Linked DNA regions of Homo sapiens: region 1 is linked to region 2. The links are contacts of gene promoters, found by promoter capture Hi-C in human tissues and cell types (Jung and others, 2019). All regions are on one chromosome and are shown on one strand. The core of a region is centred on a gene start or on the middle of the fragment in contact, and the rest is flanking DNA. Distances in the headings are between cores, read along the strand shown. Region 1 has its middle 41 kb from the start of AVPR1A. Region 2 holds the start of C12orf56 (chromosome 12 open reading frame 56).

Region 1 (7,625 bases), core at 2,056-4,555, 1.3 Mb after region 2:
TTTTTTGTTGTTGTTGTGTCCTTGCCAGTTTCTGGTATGAGGATGATAGTGATTTTGTGGAATGAGTTAGGGAGGAATCCCTCCTCCTCAAGTTTTTGGAATAATTTTAGTAAGATTGATAACAGTTCTTCTCGGTACATCTGATAAAATTTGGCTGTGAATCTGTCTGGTCTTGGGCTGTTTTTTTCTTCGTAGATTTTTTATTACTGATTTGATTTCATTTCTTATTATTGGTCTGTTCGGAATTTCTTCTTGGTTCAATCTTTCACAGTTGTGTTTTCAGTAATTTATCCCTTTCCTCTAGTTTTCTAGTTTGTGTGCATGGAGATGGTTATAGTCATCTCTGATGATCTTTGCATTTCTGTGGCATCAATTGTAATGTCATCTTTATTATTTTTATTGTAATAATTTGAATCTTTTGTTTCTTTTTTCTTGAGTATTCTAGGTAGACTTCTATCAATTTTGTCATTTCAAGAAATAAACTTTTCATTTTGTTCGTTCTTTGTACAATATTTTTTGCCTCAATTTCATTTAGTTCTGCTCTGATATTTGATATTTCTTTTCCTCTACTAGCTTTGGGTTTAGTTTGCTCTTGTTTTTCTAGTTCCTTGAGGTGCCATGTCAGATTGTTAATTTGAGATCTTTCTAGTTTTCTGATGTAGGCATTTAACTCTATAAACTTTCTTCTTAGCATCACTTTTGCTGTATTCCTGAGGTTTTTGTATATTGTGTCTCTATTTTCATTCATTTAAAAAAGACTTTTTCATTTCTGCGTTAACTTTGTTGTTTACCCAAAAGTCATTCAAGAGCAATTTGTTTACTTCCCATGTGCATGTGTGGTTTTGAGAGTTCCTAATTTTATTCCACTGTGGTGCAAGCAAATACTTGATATGATTTTGATTTTTTTGAATTTATTGAGACTTGCCATGAACAAGCATATGGTTGATTTTGGAGAATTTTCCATATGCAGATAAGAAAAGTGTATATTCTGCAGTTTGGGGATGGAATGTTCAATAGAACATTTAAATAGGTAAAGCATGGGGTTTTTCATGGTGAGTATATGACATTATTCATTTGTCAAACCCTATAGAACTTTACAGAAGAAAGACTGAACTTTAATGCATGCAAATTAAAAATAATCATTTAGCAAGTTGGAAGATTCAGGAAGGAATACAGACTGTAACAAGAGAATCTGACTATATCAGAAATGTATGAAACATCCTCCATGAAGAAGGTAGCCAGAAAGGGTGCTGAATGAGATGGAAGCCATTCTTTTTAGAACTGCACATGTGCACTGTACAATAGTTGATAAAAGTATTTCCCATAAGGTATGGGCTAACAATTCAGACACCCCTATACGTGCATACTAAAACCGAACAATTAGGTGATGGAGGGTAGGTGACGATTTCTCACTGTTGGAGTGGGAATTTACAGATAAGCATGGCCAGAAGGCTACAGTGATCTATGAGGTAATTGAACAGTTAGACACATCTGTATGAGCTCATGTTTAACTTAATATAAATGTTTACATATGGAAATGTGTATGGATACCTGTATGTACATGGGTTAGTATACAAACATGTATCTCCTTGCTCTTTCAGTTGAGAAGGTCTAAAAGCAATAATACCAAGGTAACAACAAGCACAATGAACATGAAGGTCTTGTTTTCTAGTACTGTTCTCCAGGTAAAGAAATCAGGGTGCCTTGAAGAAATGTCTCATTCTAGAACTCAGGTGGGAATTACATAAAATGAGCTTGGAGCCTCTTATGGGGCTAGAAACTTAGGAAGTACTCAACAGAAAGAAAAAAAACAACCCTGCATAGACAGGAACATACAAGTTTAGGAATCAAATGGACACAGGAGCCAACTGAGAGAGTTCACTATGGCCAATGTTGAAACAACTTTAGCAACAAATTAAGCCCAACTAGAAATTAAATTTCCATAAGTCAATACAAAAATAAATAAACTACTTAATAAATAACTAGATGGGGGAGAAGAAACAAATCTTCCCTAAGGATAAGGAGCGTAAATCCCCACCTCTTCAGCGTGGGCTGTGCGGAGTGACTCACTTCCAAAGAGTGCTAGTGGAGAGGGGAGAAAACGTAACTTTACAGTGGAGAAAGCTAGCAAACACTACCTGAGCCAGGGGATTAAGGAGAACAGCAACAGTGATAAAGCATCTTGATAGTATGTACCCTCGAATATGATATGATGAGAATGTACTTTACCTCTGTGGTTTTTTTTTCAAAACCCTTAACCCCATTCTAACCATGAGAGAAACATCAGACAAATTCCAATAGAGGAGCATCCTACAAAATGCTTGACTGAGACACCTCAAAACATTAAAGTCATCCAAAATAAGACAGGACTGAGAAACTGTCACCACCAGGAGCCTAAGGAGACATGAAAACTAAATGTAATGAGGTATCTAGGAAGGGATCCTAGAATAGAAAATGGACATTACCCTGAGAAGGGTAGTGGAAAGAGTGGTATGAAGAAAAGTTGATGAATCGGTACAAATATATGGTTTGATAGAAGAAATAAGACCTAGTATCAGATCCGTAAGGTGCCTATGGCTTACAATAATCTAGGTATTGTTTCAAAGTAGTTAGAATAATTCAAATGGTTCTAAAGAAAAGAAAAATATTTAAGATGATATTTATTTAAAGTACATTGATTTAATGTTTACACATTTTATGAACATCGTAAATTGTCACATATGCCCTGAGAACTATGTACATCTGTTACATGTCAATGTAAAAATAAATAACTAACATGGTTGTTCGGTAAAAACTAAGGAAATCTGAATAAACTATGGACTTTAATTAATAATAATGTGACAGCATTGATTAATTGTAACAAATGTACCATACTAAGATGTTAATAATAGAGAAAACTGAATGAGGGGAAAATGTGGGGACTCTATACTATCATCACAATTTTTTTCTGTAAATCTAAAGCTGTTCTGAGAGATAAAGATGACTTTTAAAAATGCTTTCAATTATCTATTATTCATTTACTGATTGGTTTCCATGGGCCAAAGTATAATGAACATACTAAGGAAAATGTGACAGCTTATGTGTAGGCATAATAATATTTTTAAAAATTGAATAAAAAAGAATTATCTTCCTGCTTTTACACTGTTGGTGCGAGTGTAAATTAGTTACACCATTGCGGAAGACAGTGTGGCGATTCCTCAAGGATCTAGAACCAGAAACACCATTTGACCCAGCAATCCCATTATGGGGTATATACCCAAAGGATTATGAATCATTTTACTATAAAGACACATGCACACATATGTTTATTGCAGCACTGTTCACAATAGCAAAGACTTGGAACCAACCCAAATGCCCATCAATGATAGACTGGATAAAGAAAATGTGGCACGTATACACCATGCAATACTATGCAACCATAAAAAAGGATGAGTTCATGTCCTTTGCAGGGACATGGATGAAGCTGGAAATCATCATTCTCAGCAAACTAACACAGGAACAGAAAACCAAACACTGCATGTTCTCACTCATGACTAGGAGCTGAACAATGAGAACACATGGACACAGGGAAGGGTGCATCACACAGGGGCCTGTCACGGGGTGAGGGTCTAGGGGAGGGATAGCCTTAGGAGAAATACCTAATGTAGATGACGAGTTGATGGGTGCAGCAAAACACCATGGCACGTGTGTACCTATGTAACAAAGCTGCACGTTCTGCACATGTATCCCAAAACTTAAAGTATAATTTTTTAAAAAGTTCTTTTAAATAGCATATATTCTACATTTTGGGCTGCTTGTGACTGCAAGGTAATAGTACTCAATAAAGATAGATTAATGTATGTTTTTAAAAAGTCATCCAGACAGAAATATATACAAAATCCACTCAGAGAATCTAAACATACAATGTTCTATCCTATGGCAAAGGAAGGTGTTTGGCTTCTTCCACGGTCCCAAAGGTCAATTACAGGAAACACCCACCAATGACTCAGGAAGAGATGTTCTTTCCATCTGAAAAGAGCGTGATCTAATTCATAACAATCTTAGTACAGAAAATAAAATCACACTGAGGATGTTAAATTCTAAAATATATTCTTTCCTCTTCCTTCTCTGATAGGGCTACGTCTCTCAGCCCCATGGAAGAATGTAACCAGTAGAGACATCCTGGCCACTTTCGCTAGGTGAGTAATTATTTTGTTTAGAGGTACATTATACAGGATTCTGAGAAACTCAAGTTGTTCTGGAACAAAAAATAAGCTTTGACCAAATCTGTTGTAATGGATGGAGATACTGTGTCAGTTAGGAAATGTTCCCGTTAGAGACTCCTTTGCTTTTTCCACCAGGCTAGTTGTTACCTTGCTGTGAGGCATATTGCATGATGTCATGAGGATGCAAGAAAATCACTGAAGAAAGACATTGGCTTATAAATCTGTAAATATGGGACTAGAGAGTGTATCATATCCAGGAAATGTCATGAGAATAGTTATTACAGGAACTATTGGTCCTCTAGGGAATGGCAGGATTTGTTGGATTCCATTTTTGAGTATGAGCCAGAAACAGATCCAAACTAAGAAATATGGATTGGTGACCAGAAAAATATCAACTAACTTTTCTTCTCTAAGAATATTTCTACCAAAAAGCTGTGGTGATTTTGTCATTGTCTTGTTTTATTGTTTACATTTCAGTCTCTTAATTATGTAGCACAGCTATTACCTTGTTCTGTCTAATCCATTAATGAAAGTGGGTCAGAATTTTTCTTCTATGACATCCTCTGCAAGATAAAATTTAAGCTTTGCCTAGGCACGGTGACTCATGCCTGTAATTCCAGCACTTTGTGGGGTCAAGGTGGGTGGATCAATTGAGCCCAGGAGTTTGAGACCAGCCTGGGCAACATGGCAAAACCCCATCTCTACAAAAAATACAAAAATTAGCCGAGTGTGGTGGTGTATACCTGTAGTCCCAGCTACTAGGGAGGCTGAGGCAGAAAAATCACTTGAATTCATGAGGTCAAAGCTGGAGTGAGCTGTGCATGTTTGCACCACTGCACTCCAACCTAAGCAACAGAGTAAGACCCTGTCTCAAAAAAAAAAAAATTAAGCTTTAACATAAGATGCCTGTTTACCTCTTTACCTCATCCCTGGTCCTACTTCCACGAGCACAATAAATTGCAGCCACTAGAAACTCAGTTGTCTCATCTGGGTCTTTGCACAAGCTGCTCCCCATGCCCGGAGTAGTCTGGCAGATCTCCAGCTTATTCAAGAGGTTCATTCTTGCTTATCTTTCAAAATTTTAGCGCAGAACCACTGCTCTGGATGGCCTCCTCTGGCTCACCAGGCTCCCATCTAAGAGGCCATTCCCATTTAATGTTCCATAATCTGTGCTCACCCTTCCCGTAGAACTGATACTGAATCACATTTTTCTATTGCTGTGTCCAGTGCTACTACTAGGCAATGAGTTCTTGAGGCCAAGGACAGTATGTATTATTCTGAGACCCCCAAAATATTGTATATATAATACGTGGCAGTAATGGTCACTAAGGATTGCGGAATGAATACATGAATCAATACAATTCAGTAAATACTTTAAAGCAACAATTAAAAACTATTGAAAAGTTAGTACAACCCAAATGGACACATCAGAATGAAATGTGATCTCCATAACAAATTTATTTTTACAAAAAGACTTCTGTGCTTCCAATCTTGCCCCCATCATCCTTTTTCACTCTGCTACCAAATATTCCTTCTGACGATGCTGTTGTGTTCACAGCCCTTCATGATCTGGCCTGGATTACTTCTCCAGTTTTTTCCTCCCACACCACACTATGGCCATAGTAATTCACTCACAGTTCCCAGCATACAGTAGGCTCATTCTTGAACAGTGCCCATGTGCAGGAAGCTCTCAGTTTGTTTATAAGTGAAAAAGGCTAAGCATCTTGTGCTGTACTAAAGCTTGTAGATTGCAACCAAATGGGAAAATCTTAATTGCATTTAGGTTCAAAGCCTACTATAGCCAGGCACTGAGTTAAGGACCAGGAGAACAAAAACCAATAAAGCATGGTCCCTATTCTCACAGAATTTACTATCTTCTGGGAGTTTTTTAAGATACATAAATATATTTTTTTTATTTTTTAAATCGATGTAGTAAAAGAAAAGCTTGTACAGTTCAGGAAAGACTTCCTAGAAAGTCTTGAAGGATGAAGAAACCTACCAGTTTAAGAAAGGGCACTTCAGGCAAAGAATACAGCTAAAGGCGTGGAGGCGTGACATAGTATAGCATAGACTGAAAAGCTCTAAGTGATGTAAGCAAGGGATGACAGTGGCCTGAACCACAGCAATGGTACTAGCAATGAAGGTGGAGGGCTCAATTCAAGAAATAAATATACAGAGGATCATTGTGGCTTGGTGATTGACGAAATGTGCGGAAGAAGGAGAAAGAGGAAGGTAATGAAATCATAGAGAAGGAGCAGGTTTCTAATAGGATGGGGAAGACAATGAGTTCTAGTTTCAACACTTGGAGTTTAGATACCTGGGATACGTCAAGTCAATATAACCAGTAGACAGGTTGATATAGAAGCAGATATACACAGCAGGAAGTTTTACGTACAACCTGATTAATAGCAGGCTCCATTAATCAGGATGGGAATCTAAGACTATAAGAGCAAATGGTATTTGTTAAGGAGAGCATGTACTGAGGAAGAAGCTCAGAACGACAGAGGAGACGCAAGGGAGTAACAGCTCAGGAAGACGACCAAAGAAGCAGGAAGAAGTTACCCAACAACAGCCGGGAAGGGGACTGAGAGGAGAGGTTCATAAATGCCAAAGGCACAGAGTGTGAAGAAGAAAGAAAATGCAGCAGAACAGTCCAAAAAGATAAAGGCAGGAAAATAAGCAACGGGTTTGGCAAGATGAATGCTTTTGATGCTGACATTGGCAGAGGATTTAGTGGAATGATAGGACTGAAGCCAAATCGAGAGTTGATAAGTGAAAGCAGGTGAGAAGGGGGACACAGTGAGAGTAAGAGGACCCTCAAAGGGGCCTGAATGAGAAGGGAAGAAAAGTAGGACAATGCTGGAGGTGGGCAAGGAGGAGAACTGGTAGTTCCACGGCCAGAGGAAAAATCAAGACGGAGGATCTGTGAGCAGGTTGGAACCTGCAGAGAAGCCACTCACAACAAAAAGATGCAAGATAAAGGAAATCTCACCCATGACCTCCTTGCTGCCTTGGAATGTATCTTTTTCTTGTCTTCTCCTCAGTCTTAATGACTTACCCGACACGTAGGTATCCAATAAATGTCTGCTAAATGGATACATGAGTGAATAAATGATGAAGCAACACCACGGAGGAAACTGCAGAAAGTGATCAAGGGACTAGGGTGACAGACCGACCTTCAGCAAGCAAAAAGACACTTCTGGAAAGGTCGGGTAGGAGGGAAAAATGGATTTCCTTGCCAGGGCTCTCTCACATTGATAAATTAATTTTTTGATCTGGCGAATGTGAGTATTTACGAATCTGCTAATTATTATGCATTAGGGTTTTATTTACTGTTTCAATGCTTCTTAAAAATGAACATTTTCAGGAAGGTAAAATATATTTTGTCTGGCCTTCTGGTCTATTTTACTGTCATACTAC
Region 2 (7,500 bases), core at 4,241-6,740:
CCAAGATGTTGAGATTACAGGTGTGAGCCACCATGCCCGGCCAAAACTAGACAATTTTTAAAGATTGAAAGTAAGTGTTATCCTGATTCTGTTTATGGCTAATAAATATTTCTCAGTAAATATTTGTGAAATGTATTGAGTTGAACCAAAAAGAACATAATTACGAGCTGATAGCTGCTGAGTTCTGTGTCAGATTCTCTGTGTGTTTCATCTCATTGTTCTTAAAGCCGAATGTCATTGTCACTAAAAGCTTATGCATAATGGGCTTCTTGGCAGAGAAAGAAGTTGGAAAACAGGTCAGGAATGCTGCCTTTATTGGTCCTATTCCAACCATTAGTTCCTCTTACAGGAAGTACATGTGCAGCAGGAAGCCTGAGAGGCAAAATAGAGCATTGGAGTATTATTCAGTGAAAGAAAACATTAATCCAAATCATTTGTCTGGTTTTTATAACAATGACATCTTTCCTTTGTATGTCATCTAATTACTAATAGTAGATTACTAATAGTAGATATTTAAATGATCAGTATCCATTAATAATAAGTATAGGGCTGGGCGCGGTGGCTCACGCCTGTAATCCTAGCACTTTGGGGGCCAAGGCAGGTGGATCACCTGAGGTGGGGAGTTCAAGACCAGCCTGACCAACATGGAGAAACCTTGTCTCTACTAAAAATACAAAAATTAGCTAGGTGTGGTGGTGCATGCTTGTAATCCCAGCTACTTGTGCGGCTGAGGTAGGAGAATTGCTTGAACCTGGGAGGCAGAGGTTGCGGTGAGCCAGAGGTTGCAGTGAGCCAAGATCGCACCATTGCACTCCAGCCTGGGCAACAAGAGCGAAACTCTGTCTCAAACAAAACAAAACAAAACAAAAACAACAACAACAAAAAACAAGCAACAACAACAACAACAAAAAAAACAACTAAGTTGAAGCACTAAGAGATTCCTAAATGAGACACCTTTAAAAAGTCAGGTTTAGGGCTGGGTGTGGCGGCTCATGCCTGTAATCCCAGCACTTTGGGAGGCTAAGGCAGGCGGATCACCTGAGGTCAGGAGTTCGAGACCAGCCTCAACATGGAGAAACCCCGTCTCTACTAAAAATACAAAATTAGCCGGGCATGGTGGTGCATGCCTGTAATCCCAGCTACTTGGGAGGCTGAGGCAGGAGAATTGCTTGAACCCGGGAGGTGGAGGTTGCAGTGAGCCGAGATTGCGCCACTGCACTCCAGCCTGGGTGATAGAGTGAAACTCCTTCTCAAGAAAAAAAAAAAAAGGTCAGGTTCTATTTATAGGCCACATATTCTAAATATCTTACTGTGTGTACTGTCTGTCTTTAGTTTCAAGTGGGGGGAATGGGAATACTTGGGATCCCTAGAAGCATTGAAGAGTACTTCTAGTTTGGAATCCTTACATGGTTCTCATGGCCTAACCTGCTGGTCTCTTCTCCACTAAAAATGTGACCCAAAAAAGGTAAAATTTGCCTTGGGTCAATCTCAGAAAGTTAGACTTGTATCCAATCAGAAGAATTTAATATTACCTTGTAGATAGGGAGCAGAACGACCACATATGTAACAGGAAATCACATACTTGTTGAACTTATTCTTTCTTTCTTTCTTTATTTTTTAAGACAGAGTCTCACTCTGTTGCCCAGGCTGGAGTGCAGTGGTGCCATCTTGGCTCACTGCAACCTCTGCCTCCCGGGTTCAAGTGATTCTTGTGCCTCAGCCTCCCAGGTAGCTGGGACTACAGGTGCCCGCCACCACGCTGGCTAATTTTTGTATTTTTTGGTAGAGATGGGGTTTCACCATGCTGTCCAGGCTGGTCTCGGACTCCTGACCTCATGTGATCCACCCACCTGGGCCTCCCAGAGTGCCGGGATTACAGGTGTGAGCCACCATGCCCAGTCAACTTGTTCTTTAGACGCTTATATAGTATTTACTCCAGTCCAGGTTCCTGTTCTAGGTACTATTGAAACTTTTTAAATCCTCGTAATAACCCTTTGGGGGTTGGTACTATTATCTCCATTTCATAGATGGGGAAACTGAGGCATAGGTCATTCAGCTACTGAATAGGAGAGCTGGAATTTGAACCCAGGTCATCTGGCTCTACAGTTCTATGCTCATAACTACTGTGCTTCGAATTATTTAAATTGACCATCCCTGTACCTAAGACCACTGTTCTGATGAAATTCAAGGAGACTGCATTTGAGGATTAGTCCAGGTAAGTAATGTCCCATTCCTTTTGATAATTTTGTCAAGAAACATCTATTAAGTGCTTGATTGCAGGAGTTCCTTTGCCAAATGTTTCTTGAGTTTGGATGAACTTACAAGATAAGGAGGGGGTACCTATCTTTGGTGCATTTGGGTTAACCATGTAAAACAGGGGTATCCAGGCTTTTGACTTCCCTGGGCCACATTGGAAGAAGAAGAATTGTCTTGGGCCACATATAAAATATACTAACACTAATGATAGCTGATGAGCTAAAAAAAAAAAAAAAAATCGCAAAAAAATCTCATAATGTTTTAAGACATTTATGAATTTGTGTTGGGCCACATTTAAAGCCTTCCTGGGCTGCAGGTGGCCTATGGGCCATGGATTGATGTAAAGCTTACCAAAAGATAAGGGAATGTGAATGCTTCATATGTCTGTAGTGCTCATAGAGTCTATAATTCATCACATTTGATCCTCACATTTTATAGATGATGAAACTGAGGCTCGGAAAGGTTGTGACTTTCCAAAAGTCTGATAGATAACAGAGTTAGTGCCCTTATCTAGTTCTCCTGACTCCAAATCTAGTGATCTTTCCTATATATTTAAATCCATTTCCTGCAATAGAAATTTTGCTGTTACCTTGGCAACACTGCTGTACAGTGCCTGGAAACCATTGTATTGCCTTCTCTGTGTGCCACGAAGTTAAAAGTTTAACTGAAGTCACCTTGATCACCAATCTCCCAGTCAAATTCCCTTCTTTCTGTGCTTCATTTTATTTATTTATTTATTTTTTAATTTTAGATACAGAGTCTTGCTCTGTTGCCCAGGCCAGAGTGGAGTAGGGCAATCTCAGCTCACTGCAACCTCCACCTCCCGGGTTCAAGCAATTCTCCTGCCTCAGCCTCCCGAGTAGCCAGGATTACAGGCATGTGTTACCACACCCAACTAATTTTTTGTAATTTTAGTAGAGATGGGGTTTCACCATGTTGGCCAGGTTGGTCTCAAACTCCTGACCTCAACTGATCTACCCGCCTCGGCCTCCCAAAGTGCTGGGATTACAGGCATGAGCCACCACACCCAGCCTGTGCTTCATTTTAATGTTTGCTAAGCTTAGTGCACTTGTCACCAAAAGCTTATTCAAGATGGGCTTCTTGGCAGATATATCAAGTATGCTGTCTTTTTTGGTCCTGGTCCAGTCATTCTGTTTCTCTTAGTCCTGGGAAGTAGGTATGAAGTAGGAAGCCTGAGAGACACAAAATAGTAGACTAAGATAAGGCCTTTCCCTTATGTGGGCCTCACTTTCCACCTCTGATATTGTAGTCATTCATCTTTCAACTGCTTTTGTGAGGTGTGGCTATTCAGCAGAGGTGAAGCGCCTTTGCCTTTCTGTTAGTTTGAAGCAACAAACTCTATTTAGAGTGGTTTAGATAATGAGTAGTCTTTATTTTGGAGGAAATAGCCATGCGGCATCTTTTATCAATAAAGGTTGCTACGGATGGTGTAGTTCATTCATTTTTCATCCATTTATGAAGTTAGGAAGGCTCAGATGTGTGATGAGATCCTAAGAAAACTTTAACTACTAGGTCATTTAAGATTTTGCCAGCAGGTGGCACTTCTCTTTACTCACTTGAGTTCCTTAACATGATCTTAGACTTAAGTCTAGCCAGACCCTTACATGGCGGTGGTTCATGCCTGTATTCCCAGCACTTTGGGAGGTCAAGGCAGGCAGATCAGTTGAAGTCAGGAGACAAGCCATGGCCAAGATGGTGAAATCCTGTCTCTACTAAAAATACACACAGAAAAAAAATTAGCCAGGCATGGTGGTGTACACCTGTAGTCCAAGCTACTTGGGAGGCTGTGGCAGGAGAATGGCTTGAACCCAGGAGGCAGAGGCTGCAGTGAGCCGATATCATGCCACTGCACTCCAGCCTGGGTGACAGAGGGAGACTCTGTCTCAAAAAAAAAAAAAAAAAAAAAGTTTAGCCAGACCAAAACATTTCTCTTTCCCTTTGTACTAGTGTAGTCTACAATATCTGTTTATGGATTGTAATATATTTATACCTTCTTTCCACAAGGGATTTGAAGTTGCTTATAACATACAGTATACAATAATAAAATATGTAGAAAGGGAGAATATAAAGAATATATCAAATTTGATTCAGGGTTGCTGGCAGCCACAGCAATGAACGATATGGTTTCATTATCAGGTTTTTGGGTCAATGGGGAGGGGAAGAGAATAACTTTTCTAGGATTCGAAATAAAAAATGGAACTTCTGACTTAGAGCATTTCTGTTGTGCCCTTCTCATTTCTCTAACCTAATTAGTAAGTTATTCTTGGCCTGTAAAAACTAAGGAATACTTACTCCTCTGCAGCCTCAGGGTATGTAATCCGCATTCTTCAGTCTATCAGCTTCAACTTTTCAAGATGCCAGCATCACCCATTCATTCTTCCTGCATAGATTGTCCTGGGCATTGGAAACAAAACCATATGCCTTAGGTTGGTTTGGGTGTGCTCACATCAATTCATGTGAAGAATCCCTTTCTCAAAGGCTGGGCGAGGTGACTTAACGCCTGTAATCCCAGCACTTTGGGAGGCCGAGGCGGGCGGATTACCTGAGGTCGGGAGTTGGAGATCAGCTTGACCAACATGGAGAAACCCCGTTTTTACTAAAATATACAAAATTAGCTGGGCGTGGTGGCGCATGCCTGTAATTCCAGCTACTCAGGAGGCTGAGGTAGGAGAATCGCTTGAACCCGGGAGGGGGAGGTTGCGGTGAGCCGAGATGGCGCCATTGCACTCCAGCCTGGGCAACAAGAGCAAAGCTGCGTCTCAAAAAAAAAAAGAGAAAAGAAAAAAAAAATCCCTTTCTCACTGGTTGGAGAAAGAAGACCTATGTTTACACTCCGACAATATCAGAAAGCTGTGCCAGGCCATGTTATAACCAAAAGCTAAATCTGTGTGATTGGGTTTAATAGGTTTCTAGGGTTGTTAAAAATAAATCGGTAAATTAAACTCTTTCAAGTTTCTAACAGGAAACCAGATTGAAGCTGGCTTCCATTACCAATAAAGTTTGTATTGGATGGTGTGATCCGCAACAGAGTACGCAGTGGTGGGGACTGGCATTAGGGGTGGGCGGGAGAGACCCTAAAAATCCACCGCCCTTCGGCCGCAGGGGACTTCACGGTGATGAGCCCGAGGTGCCCATCAACTCGGGCCTGAAGGACCAGCGTCTTGCCCCGCCCATCGCCGTCTGAGGTTAGGACAAAGATCGAGAGGCTGGACAGGGCTGGGGAGGGCGCTCCAGGGAAGCCGACCTAGCGTCGATTCCTGCAGTTGCGGCCCGGGTCCCCGCGCCTGGAGAGGAGGCGACGCGTGGCCGGCGGCTTTGTGGCGCGCGGGTTCCAGCGCGGGGGCGGGGAGAGGGCGAGCTGAGGGCCTCGAGTCCCAGCACTCCGCCACGCTGCGGGCGCCGGGCATGGCCAGCCCCTTGCCGTCCGGCTTCCCCGCGCGCAGGAACAGCCGCCTGGATGTGTTCCTGCGGCGGCATCTGCCGCCCGAGGTCTACGACGCGGTCCGCGCCTACGAGCCATGCATCGTGGTGTCCAACTCTGAGAACCACATCCTCAAGTATGTGGTGCTAAGCGACCGGCTCGTCTACCTAACCGAGAACCCGCCCAAGTCCATCCGGCGGGTAGTGGCTCTGCGGGACGTCGTGGCCATTGACCTGGTGAGCGGCGCGGGTGGGCAGGCGGGCTCGGGAGCGCAGTGAGAACTCCCGGCTGGGGCCCCCAAACCCAGCCCTCCTGCGCGGGGAGGGCTGCCCCATCCTGCCCTCGACTCCCCTCCTCTTATTTGAGAACGAGGAACACAGGGAAGCTGTGGATTGCTGTGAGCACTCCTAATACAAACACGTCTCCCATTCTCCTCGTGTCTGCCTGTTCACCCATTCTCCCGCCTCCCCTACCCCACGTAGGGCTACAGGTTTGAGAACCGAGCTCCCTATCAAAAATACCTTTTAAAGTCATTCCTTTGTTAACAAAGCACCTAGTCAGTGCCAGGCACTGTGCTAGACTCGGAGGATGCAAAAACGAAAGAGGGCCCCTACCTAGAAGCAGTCGCTGGAGGGCTAGAAAGCCAACACCCGTGCAAATAAATGCTGTGTGTTAAGTGCTGTTATATCTCATTTACTTTTTTGCCCCCGATGCTTAGAGCATGTTAGATGCTCAATAAGAATAAATGCATAAGGCCGGGTGCCGTGGATCACGCCTATAATCCTTACACTTTGGGAGGCCAAGGTGGATAGATCACCGGGGGTCAGGGGTTCGAGACCAGGCTGGCCAACATGGTGAAACGCCGTCTCCACCAAAAGTACAAAAATTACCCAGGCGTGGTCGTGTGCACCTGTAATCCCAACTACTTGGGAGGCTGAGGCACAAGAATCGCTTGAACCTGGGAGGCGGAGGTTGCCGTGAGCCGAGATCGCCCCACCTGCACTCCAGCCTGAGCTACAGAATGAGTGAGACACCGTTCCCCTCCACCCCCTCCCCAGCAAAAGAATAAATGCATGAATAAGCAGATGCGTTAATGAGATGCGCACAGGACGCTTGGCAATCTCAGGCGGCTCACTTGATCCAAACTGGGCGCAGGGCCTGCTGGGAAACGTCTTGGAAGGAGGGGCGTCGACGCTAGGAGCTGGGCTTGAAAGACGTCGGGCCTGCCACAGCCTGTCGCCGGTTTTCGGGTGCTGTTCCTGTACCCCTTTCGTCCAGGAATAGATTTACCTTGTAAACCAGCAACAGACTGGAAGCACGGTCTCCTCTCCAATTACTGTTTTCCCCGCCTGGCTCCCTTTGTCTGAGCTGCTCTCCAGGTGTGTTCTTGGTTTTTCCGTTGGGGACAGGTGTCTAGCCTCGTTTTTTCATTCCCTTGACTGAGCCCCAAGGGAGAGGTTGGCGAGACGCTTGATGGAGCTGTTTTGCTGAGGAGTCATGGCTTGTTTTGAACGAGTCTGTAAGAAAAGAATAAAATTAAATGAAAAAAAAAGATTTTTTTTCTACTCGGAATACCTTTGTGAACTAATGTAACTGTGCCAATTTATTTTCTTTGTTGAGGAAAAGTTCGGGATACAACATTGCTTTTCCTCACTACCATTGTTTCCATTCTCTTGAACTAAAACAATTTTTTTGGAGACAGTCTCACTCTGTCATCCAGGCTGGAGTGCAGTGGCACCATCACGGCTCACTGCCGCCTCAGCCTCCAGGGCTCAAGCGATCCTCCCACATCAGCCTCCCAA

What was found. The method cuts DNA at HindIII sites, captures the fragments that hold promoters and counts their contacts. A contact is called where the count stands out against the background at its distance.
Region 1: a fragment that was not itself captured here is called in contact with the fragment with the promoter of C12orf56 in region 2 in 1 of the 25 tissues and cell types used here (H1 embryonic stem cells).

The regions. Positions count from the first base shown.
Region 1 is chr12:63,106,844-63,114,468 of GRCh38, reverse strand. No RefSeq gene overlaps it. Among named protein-coding and RNA genes, the nearest start is that of AVPR1A, 41 kb to the left of the region's middle. The HindIII fragment of the contact is 4,430 bases long and covers 1,091-5,520 here.
Region 2 is chr12:64,388,748-64,396,247 of GRCh38, reverse strand. It overlaps C12orf56 (chromosome 12 open reading frame 56), which reads left to right and starts at 5,490. Exons shown (of 13, transcript NM_001170633.2): 1 at 5,490-5,934. The coding sequence starts at 5,683. It also overlaps the pseudogene RPS11P6. The HindIII fragment of the contact is 10,638 bases long and covers 2,960-7,500 here.